Regions from separate parts of the Homo sapiens genome. Here regions 1 and 3 are each linked to region 2. The links are contacts of gene promoters, found by promoter capture Hi-C in blood cells and fetal thymus (Javierre and others, 2016). All regions are on one chromosome and are shown on one strand. Each heading gives the region's core, a stretch centred on a gene start or on the middle of the fragment in contact. The rest is flanking DNA. Distances are from core to core; before and after follow the strand shown. Region 1 overlaps SLC22A5 (solute carrier family 22 member 5). Region 2 holds the start of GDF9 (growth differentiation factor 9). Region 3 holds the start of RAD50 (RAD50 double strand break repair protein).

Region 1 (3,139 bases), core at 1-2,500, 490 kb before region 2:
GACTCCATGCCTAGTAAGAAGAGCCAACAAATCTGACTCCGTAATTCTTGCTAAGTAAAGAAACCTGAGCTGTCTAAGCTGAATGTATCTGTGACCCGGTTGACTAGGTAATATGCCATGATTCACTTCTGCAGTAGCCTGGCTTGCCTCCCCTGGGTCACTGTGACTCTGTCATGCCCCTGAGCATGGGAGAGGTTGACATCATGCACACATGCACATGTGCTAGATTGTAGATCTGTAGTAGTGCCACGGTGTCTGCCTCTGTAGTCCCAAGAAGACCAGCATTCTCTCTGCAAAGTGAAAGGAGCTCTCACCAGCCACTAGTGGTATGAAAAGCAGAACTCTTTTGTCCACAAGGCTGATGCCCCTTAGCTAAGTGGCCTGTGGTTTTGGCATTTACTTTATGACAGGAGGGAGAATAGTGTTTTGATCCATTTCTTATAAGCAGGTTATTTGTATAATTCTAAAGCTTTTAACTCAAGGAAACATTAACGGCTTAGAGAATCCCAAACCCCTCGAAATTATATGCACAATGTTAGAGACTACATGTGAGCATTTTTTTGGAGAGAGGTCCGTAGCTTTCATGAAGTTCTTAGAGGGGTCCATTATGTTGTGTCTTCTTTCCCTGGAGCTTCAGGGTCTGTCAGAGAAGACTGTGAAGAGAGTAGCAGCCTTCAGCAAGTCCTTGGCCACATGACACATGTGAGAACACCCCACAAATCGGTGGGTTAGCCGGTGGAAAGGAGTCCCAGCATCTTCCCTGGTTTTTAATTCCTGGCCTCAAGCAATCCTCCCTCCATAACCTCCCAAAGTGCTGGGATTACAGGCGTGAGACACCATGCGCAGCCAGATATTTTTTATTGTTGTTGTTTTTTTTTGGAAAAGGAGTTTCACTCTTGTTACCCAGGCTGGAGTGCAATGGCACGATCTCGGCTCACTGCAACCTCTGCCTCGCAGGTTCAAGAGATTCTCCTGTCTCAGCCTCCCGAGTTGCTGGGATTACAGGCATGCACCACCATGCCCAGCTAATTTTGTATTTTTAATAGAGACAAGGTTTCTCCATGTTGGTCAGGCTGGTCTCAAACTCCCGACCTCAGGTGATCCACCCACCTCGGCCTCCCAAAGTGCTGGGATTACAGGCGCGAGCCACTGCACCTGCCCAGCCAGATTTTTTTTTAAAAAGCAGGTTAACCTGTTTATTATTCCTACTTTACAGATGGAGAAAGTGAGACAGAGGGATTAAATAACTTGCCCAGGGTTTCACAGCTGGCAAGTGGCAGAGTTAGGATTTGGACCCAGGTAGTCTTGCTCCTCTATTGTGTATGGACTACTGTTCTAGGTCCCTGCTGTCCTAAAACTTGCTTTCTAGCAAGGTGGAATGTATTAAACAACCAAGTGAGGAAGTCGTTGTTGTCCTTGGCCATGGTAAGAGATACAGAGAAGTGCAGGGTGCCACAGGAGTGTCTAACAGAGGAGGTCAGGGGCAGCATCCCTGAGAAGGTGAAGCATGAGCGAGAGTGGGAAGATGAGTCGAAAGTAGCCAGCTGAGGGGTAGAGAGGAGAAAGAACATCCAGGCAGGGAGAATAGCAAGTGCTAAAGCCGGGGCTCATGAAAAGGCATGGGAGCAGGACAAAGTCCGTGTGGTAGAGGTGCGGAGAGTGGTGTTAAGATGAAGGGGAGAGGCAGGCAGAGCCCTGGGCAGATGAGCAACCAGGGCTTAGTGGATCACAGTTAGGACTTTGGGCTTCAGCCACAGAGCAGCGGTGGGCTACTGAGATTTTTTAAAGCAATAGTGTGACAATCAGATTTGTCCTTTTTTTTTTTTAAAGATGCTTTGACAACCTTGTGAAGAAAGAATTGAAGGGAAGCAAAAGGTGTTGTAGAGAGACCAATTAAAAGGTTGTCACAGTAGTTCATGCCAGAGATGATGGTGGCATGGCCTAGCATGACGGTGGTAGAAATGGAGGGAAGTGGTAAGAGGTAAAATCAACAAGACTTGCCGATGGGCTGGATGTCGGAATTGGGGGAAGAAAGCTTTCTGGCCTGAGTAACTGGGTGAATGAAGGTACACTTCTCTAAGACAGAGAATGCTGGAAAAGAACCACGTTCATGGATATTGAGTTCAATTTGTGTGTACTAAATTTGGGGTGACTATGAGACCCCTAAGTGGAGAAGTAGAGTGTGAAGCTGGCTGTATGGATATGGTACTGCATGAGAGGTTTTGGCTAGAGAAACACATGTAGGATTTGTCAGCATATAGAACCCTCAGCAGAGCCCCAGATAGGGATGAGGTTGCCTGGGGAGAGGGGAGTGGGGAGGGGAGGGGGGAACTGGGGGAGGATTGTGCTATGCTTAGAGGCCACCTGAGTGGACATGGGAGATTCCTTCTCACGGAGCTAAGTGACAGCTGCGGCTCAGAAGAATGCCCTTGATGTGAAAAGGAGATACCCCAAGTTCAGAGTAGAAATGCAGTGTATTTTTCTGGGTCAGCTGTGTCATGGGTCAGCTTAAGAACCTTCTTGCCATGTGACACAATGATTACCTGAGGAAAGCATTTAAGTTCCAAAAGGTCTATTCCCAGGGAAACTGGAAACAAAATTTGTGAGTGTGTTTAGGACCACTTTAGTCTACAGAAGGGCTAATATAGTGTTTTTCAAACCTTTCTAAACATTTTGGCCACAGAACTTTCATTAAAGTAGGATAATTTAAGTCTAGTAAATGAAATACACCCTAAGTGGCTAAAAGTATGGCTGTTCTGCCTGCAGCCCCTGCCTTCAATTCCCAATGCCCTGCCTCAAGCCTGTCTGTGCCCCCTTGGAAGGCCCAGGGCCCTGTGGGATGGACAGCTTCTGAGTGCATTACTTCTGAGTAAACCAGTTCTAAAACCTAAGCTAAGTAGATTACCTGAAAGCAATCAATTCATGCCCTAACTTGTCTAGGACATCAATGTAACTTTTTATATAGTATAAAGGTTTCACCTTCTTTCTGGCCTATGAATATGTCTGAAATTCAAGAGCAATTAAAGTACTCCTGGGTTGTCAAAGCCCTTTATGTAACACTATTGAGTTATCTTTATGCGTCTGACTTGTAAGAGATGCACAACTCTAGGAAGAAGTAGACTGCTGTGTCCTGTTTCCA
Region 2 (3,135 bases), core at 396-2,895:
CGGACTAACTATGTAGCTGAAAGTCTAAGATAAATTGAGGAATGATCTTAAATAAAATCTCTCATTTTTTGAGAAATTTGGATTAAGATGTTCGCTAGGTGCTTGCTGAAACTTCTAAGGCATGTGGAAAAGCTAACCAATTATTCATGACGATACTCAGATCTGCTGGTATGCAACTTATGGTATTAGGTTTACTCTTCCTCTCAATTTATCCTCACGGCCTTTTCCACTTCCAGGTGTTTACAATTGTAATTATTCGCTGCATGTTAATTTGCGAATTTACAAATTTGGGTGAGAAAGTCACAATTGGCATAGAAGTTCCAGAAAGCAGAAAACCATTAGGTCTCTCAGTCCTCCCAGGTGGCTGGGTACAGAATACGTACTTGGAGTACTGGAATTGTATTTGCGATGTTCTTAAAAGAGGACACCGCCTTTAACCTTGACTTATTTTTAAATGTAACATACTGATGTCCTTACTTTGGTCTGCACACTCATCTATACATATTTTGGTTGAAAGGTTTTGGGATGTTTGCAGATGCTATAAAATAAATGAACGTTTTATTATTATTCATCCAAATGGTGGTAGAATTTGCCACAATATTTCTGTCCTTACCTGTATTTCTGTTCTTGCCTTGGAGCTGAGACCAGGCTAGACATTATGGTTTAAAAAAATGAGGCAAAGGAGCACCATGAAAAGCTGAAATGAGGGGATATTCAGCGCCACCCCGAAGGAGACTATGCTGGAAGAGTCAGCCTACACTCATAGTGCAAGATACGAAGCCAGTTTGTGCAGTACCTACATGAGAAAACTAAGGTATGTCTGCAAAATACAAGTTGACTGCCTGCCGAGCCTCCGTGGTCCGTAAGTAGTGTTATAAAACACAGCCAACTGTTGAATGAGAGCTTAGTCCTAGATAAAATATGGCCAGCAATTCCATTAACAAAACACTGACAAGACACCTCAGGGCGAGCTGTACATTGACAACAGCATCGTCAAGCAGAATGCACTTCAGGGAAAACATAATAAGGCCTCTCACCCGACTTTCCTTGCTTCTCACGTGGGGAGAAGAAAGAACTGGGGCATCGTGATTCCCCCCACCCCACGCAAACCATCTGGGGAGGACGCTGGCTGCTGTCGAGGCGGCCTCAGCATTCATCAATTGACGATTATTTGATTATTTTTGTGGCTGAAACTGACGAAACGTTTGTATTATCTCTTGGGAACGTTAACAGCCTGCCAGGGGACTCTAAAACAGAGTCCAAGAGAAGCCTTCGATGTGTGTCCCTGATTTTGGTGCTGGGGTCGCTCATGGCCTGAAAATAACGAAGCCCCCTTTGAGCTACTGGCCAAGGCCAAATGAAACCTCGTGCTCCTCTGCTGTGGGGCGGCCCGGCCTCGGGGCTCAGAGGCGCTCTGTCTACAGCTGGGAAGACTCGCAGGCCCCAAGCTCCTGGCCAGCGCTGCCCCGGAGGTCGGCAGGCCCCTTCCTCGTCACCTTTTTGTTCCCTCCCCCGCCTCCCGCATTCGGCCGCTTCCTGACTGGGATTCCACAGAAAAGCCGAGGGCTGAGGAGAAGTGTGAGCGCCTCCGCCTGTCCACTGTCCCCCAAAGTCAGTTCAATCCCCGACGTCCTCCGCTAGGCTCCACCCCACCGGCCCGGGCAGGGCCTCCAAGGCACCTCCCACCTACGGGTCACCCAGTCAGCCCACTTCTTTCTGGGACAAAGGCGTCATCCCTTAGAGACAGTAGGAAAATGGTATCTCCCGGAAGTTACCTCACGACCTCCAAGAGCGGCTTCCAACCTTGCCGGAAATGACGAACGAGTCAACCGGATCGGTGACTGTGGAGGGCGAGCTGAGCCCTGTGCGTGAGTGGGGTCTGGTTGTGCAGTGTTCGTGGACCCTGGGAGGCTAGGGGCGCCCCGCTGGGCTGGGAAAGGATAAGGAGTGCAGGGGCAGGAGTCTGGGGTTGGGGATGGACCCCCGCGGGGACTGCGGCGCTTCGCGAAAGCGAGCCAAGCGCCTGTCCACCCTCGGTCCTGCAGGGCCGCCGCCACAATGGGCCGCGAGTTTGGGAATCTGACGCGGATGCGGCATGTGATCAGCTACAGCTTGTCACCGTTCGAGCAGCGCGCCTATCCGCACGTCTTCACTAAAGGAATCCCCAATGTTCTGCGCCGCATTCGGGAGTCTTTCTTTCGCGTGGTGCCGCGTGAGTGCCTTGGGCCCGCGGGAGCGGGAGGCTGGACCCCAGCAGCAGCAGCAGTCACTGCGCCTCCCCTCTGAGCGCTGGCGGCCGGGCAGGCGCTCTGTAACTTGCCGTACACACCTTTCTCATTGAATATTCCTGACCGCCCTTAAGCTGGTCATATTATCCTCCCCATCTTACACGGGGAAAACTGAGCTACAGAACTGAAATGACTGGCCCAAGGTCACTCGGGTGATTCCAGCATGTTCCTCTGAGGTCACCTTTATTTAGTTCTTACCAGTGGTGAAATGCTTTGTGTTAAACGTGCAGCAGATAGTGATGATAGTTGCATGGCCTTGGATATGCTAAGAACTACTGAAGTGTATGCTTTAAAGAAGACAAGAGGACTGAGACCTTTTTTTTTCTTCTATATGTCTTATATGTGTGCTCTCTGTTTACTCTCTTAATTTTTAAAGAGTTTGTAGTGTTTTATCTTATCTACACATGGGGGACTGAAGAGTTCGAGAGATCCAAGAGGAAGAATCCAGCTGCCTATGAAAATGACAAATGAGCAACGCATCCGGATGACGGTTCCCTGTCTCTGAAAGACCTTTCTCTGGAAGAGGAGTCTGCATTGTAGTGTCTCAAAGACACAATAAACTTCCTATGGTCTGCACTGTTGTGATATTACATTTTTGTGAGTAGAATCCTGTGTGACCACTAATATTCAAGTTCATGAAGCGCCCCTCCTCAGCATGAGTCTTGAAGTTTTGCCTGGTCTCGGGTTTTGGTGAAAGAGCAGGGCTCCCCCTTTGTTCCATTATCTACAAGAAAGTAGCTGCAGGTACTCCTGCATCTAACCATTTGTGGGTGACATGGGCTATGGCGAGTGCTGGTTCTTGGCCCTCTGCTCCCATAGCAACAATAAAGTCTACTAACTATATTGT
Region 3 (2,894 bases), core at 203-2,702, 310 kb before region 2:
ATTCTTTTTGAGACGGAGTCTCGCTCTGTTGCCCAGGCTGGAGTGCAGTGGTGCGGTCTCGGCTCACTGCAAGCTCCGCCTCCCGGGTTCATGCCATACTCCTGCCTCAGCCTCCTGAGTAGCTGGGACCATCGGCGCCTGCCACCATGCCCGGCTAATTTTTTGTGTTTTCAGTAGAGACGGGGTTTCACCGTGTTAGCCAGGATGGTCTTCATTTCCTGACCTCGTGATCCACCCGTCTCGGCCTCCCAAAGTGCTGGGATTACAGGCGTGAGCCACCGCGCCTGGCCAAGACAGTAAATTTTATGTGTATTTTACAATTTTTAAAATAAAAAAAGGTCTTTCGTCTTTTCCCATTGTTTTATTACATTTGCTTTGCCAAGTAAGACATTCCTATATAATTTTAATGTTTTGTTCCATTAGTTATTTTAACTATTTTGTAATAACTGACACTTTCCGGTTTTTTTTAACCTGGTACAGCAAGAGACTATTTCTCACTGGTCTTCCCCACTTGCATCCTTTGGCACATACATTTATGTATTAGGTTCTGTAAATTATTTGCTTGGGATTGTATGACTGGAGAAACATTTCCTACATTTTTCCAAGGCAGGCAGAGGCAAATTATACCACTACAGTAATTCCAAATTTGTGTTTCATTTAAATGTCCTCCACTATTGTTTCAGTAATTTTTATGTATGTTTCTCTAGGCCCTTAAATGTGATATCCCTCCATTAAGTTTGTTTCCAAGAAAGCAATATTCTCAGTTACTTCTGAGACAGGTAACTTCTCTTTCCCTTATTTTTAAAGATATCTATTGCTGGGAGCACTGATCGGAATGGATTACCTCTACATTCTTCATATTTGCAGACTGCTTTTAGTTTTAGTTCCCAGACTTTTGGTCTTAAAGACGCCTTTACACTAAAAAATTACGGGGGACCTCAAAGAGCGTGTACGTGAGTTATAATTATCAACATTTACTCAATTAGAAATTAAAATTGGTATTTCTAAGCGCAAGAATACACATGCGCACATTCCATTAACCGCCACTGCAATGGCGTCATCACATGTTATGTGATCACTGGAAATTACTACACGAACGTTAGAGAGAGAATGAGAATGAAAAGGAAAATAGTTTTGACACGAACTGACCCCGCTTCCTGGGTCTCCAATCCACCCCACCACTACCCCCATTCCAGGAGTCCCAGGATCAAGCTTTGGGAAGCGCCATCCGTCACAGGTCTTGGTCTCCCCTTCCAAAAGTCAGTGCCTCTCCAGGCTGCCCATCCCCAGCAAAGATCCGGAAGTCCGCTGCCCCTGGCAACAGCACCCAGCACCTAGCCCTCTGCTTCGCCGTACCGCACCCGGAAGTCGGAGCTGCGCACGCACCGCGGGACTCTGATTTCCCGGCGTGCCCCAGGAGAGCGGCGTGGACGCGTGCGGGCCTAGAGGCCCACGTGATCCGCAGGGCGGCCGAGGCAGGAAGCTGTGAGTGCGCGGTTGCGGGGTCGCATTGTGGCTACGGCTTTGCGTCCCCGGCGGGCAGCCCCAGGCTGGTCCCCGCCTCCGCTCTCCCCACCGGCGGGGAAAGCAGCTGGTGTGGGAGGAAAGGCTCCATCCCCCGCCCCCTCTCTCCCGCTGTTGGCTGGCAGGATCTTTTGGCAGTCCTGTGGCCTCGCTCCCCGCCCGGATCCTCCTGACCCTGAGATTCGCGGGTCTCACGTCCCGTGCACGCCTTGCTTCGGCCTCAGTTAAGCCTTTGTGGGCTCCAGGTCCCTGGTGAGATTAGAAACGTTTGCAAACATGTCCCGGATCGAAAAGATGAGCATTCTGGGCGTGCGGAGTTTTGGAATAGAGGACAAAGATAAGCAAATTATCACTTTCTTCAGCCCCCTTACAATTTTGGTTGGACCCAATGGGGCGGGAAAGACGGTAAGTCTTCAGTAGCCGCCTTCAGTTTACAGGTCGCTACATCTTTCGGAGAATAAAATGGGAAGTTGAGAACTCTCCTTAGGAGCAGAAGCGTCCCTAGGGCTCCACAGGTGTAGGCCCTTAAAGTGCCTTAGGGTGTGGCCTGCAGGCTACAGCGACCTTAGGAGTTTGCCTGAAGCAGTCTCGGAAGGATGTCCGGACCTGGCCTGGGGACAAGGTTTACTTAAGAATCCCACGATACCGGGAGCTGTCGCCGCTCACTCAGAGTTCAGTTCCCACTGGATGCCCTTTGGTCTGTATTGATGTTTTTAACGCTGTCTCCTTGCTTTCAAAGCATAGCATTCACTTCCCAGTAGTTGTCCCATACAAGAATTCCTTTAAAAGTTATAAAATGATACATACATGACTAAAGAGTTTCCAAGTATGCCAACTGTCCAGACATAATACATGGAAAATAAATAAATTCAAAATGTAACTGATGTAGTGGGGCTTAACTTGGAAAACTTCTCTTCTTAAAACTCAGTCAAAAATTTAACGTTGGTGCACGACTGACTTTTTTTTTTTTTTAAAGCCGTGGGAATATTTATAAATTTGAATGGAAAGAATAACCAAGAGGCATTCTGGTCAGGAATAGTGGCTTAAGAAAAAGCAAGACGATGTCAGTATAGCAGGGAGAAGAGTCTAAAGGAAGGATTTGTGAAGAGTGTAGAAAGAGAGAAGGTTGAGAATTGAATGCCAAACTTGTTTACTTTTGTTTTTGTAAAAATGTTATTTGTTGAATGCTTGTTATGTACTTAGGATTGTACTAAATACTAGCAGAAGGGAGAGTAGTACTGTATAGTGTTTATGAGGACTGGCTGCCTCAATACAGCTTTTTCGCTTCATTTATTAGTTGTCTGATTGTTTGCGAGTGACCTCACTGCTCTGTGCCTTAGTTTTCTCATTTATAAAATGGAGATTAAAAA

What was found. Contacts are between HindIII fragments. The CHiCAGO score rates a contact against its expected background, and 5 or more counts as called.
Region 1: a fragment that was not itself captured here is called in contact with the fragment with the promoter of GDF9 in region 2 in 8 of 17 cell types (M0 macrophages, monocytes, M1 macrophages and 5 more); the score reaches 10.3 in M0 macrophages.
Region 3: a contact is called between the fragment with the promoter of RAD50 here and the fragment with the promoter of GDF9 in region 2, in 2 of 17 cell types (fetal thymus and erythroblasts). The highest score is 6.2, in fetal thymus.

What each region holds. Positions count from the first base shown.
Region 1 is chr5:132,378,623-132,381,761 of GRCh38, forward strand. The region is part of intron 2 of SLC22A5 (solute carrier family 22 member 5); the gene reads left to right. Among named protein-coding and RNA genes, the nearest start is that of MIR3936HG, 10 kb to the left of the region's middle. The HindIII fragment of the contact is 1,566 bases long and covers 468-2,033 here.
Region 2 is chr5:132,864,824-132,867,958 of GRCh38, forward strand. GDF9 (growth differentiation factor 9) reads right to left here and starts at 1,646. Exons shown (of 2, transcript NM_005260.7): 1 at 1-1,646. It overlaps UQCRQ (ubiquinol-cytochrome c reductase complex III subunit VII), which reads left to right and starts at 1,819. Exons shown (of 3, transcript NM_014402.5): 1 at 1,819-1,864; 2 at 2,046-2,212; 3 at 2,665-3,135. The coding sequence starts at 2,059. The coding sequence ends at 2,759. RefSeq lists enhancers at 1,098-2,297, 1,156-1,656, 1,657-2,157. The HindIII fragment of the contact is 4,688 bases long and covers 1-3,135 here.
Region 3 is chr5:132,555,525-132,558,418 of GRCh38, forward strand. RAD50 (RAD50 double strand break repair protein) reads left to right here and starts at 1,453. Exons shown (of 25, transcript NM_005732.4): 1 at 1,453-1,929. The coding sequence starts at 1,801. It also overlaps a transcript of IL5 not described here. RefSeq lists an enhancer at 1,076-1,736. The HindIII fragment of the contact is 3,439 bases long and covers 1,211-2,894 here.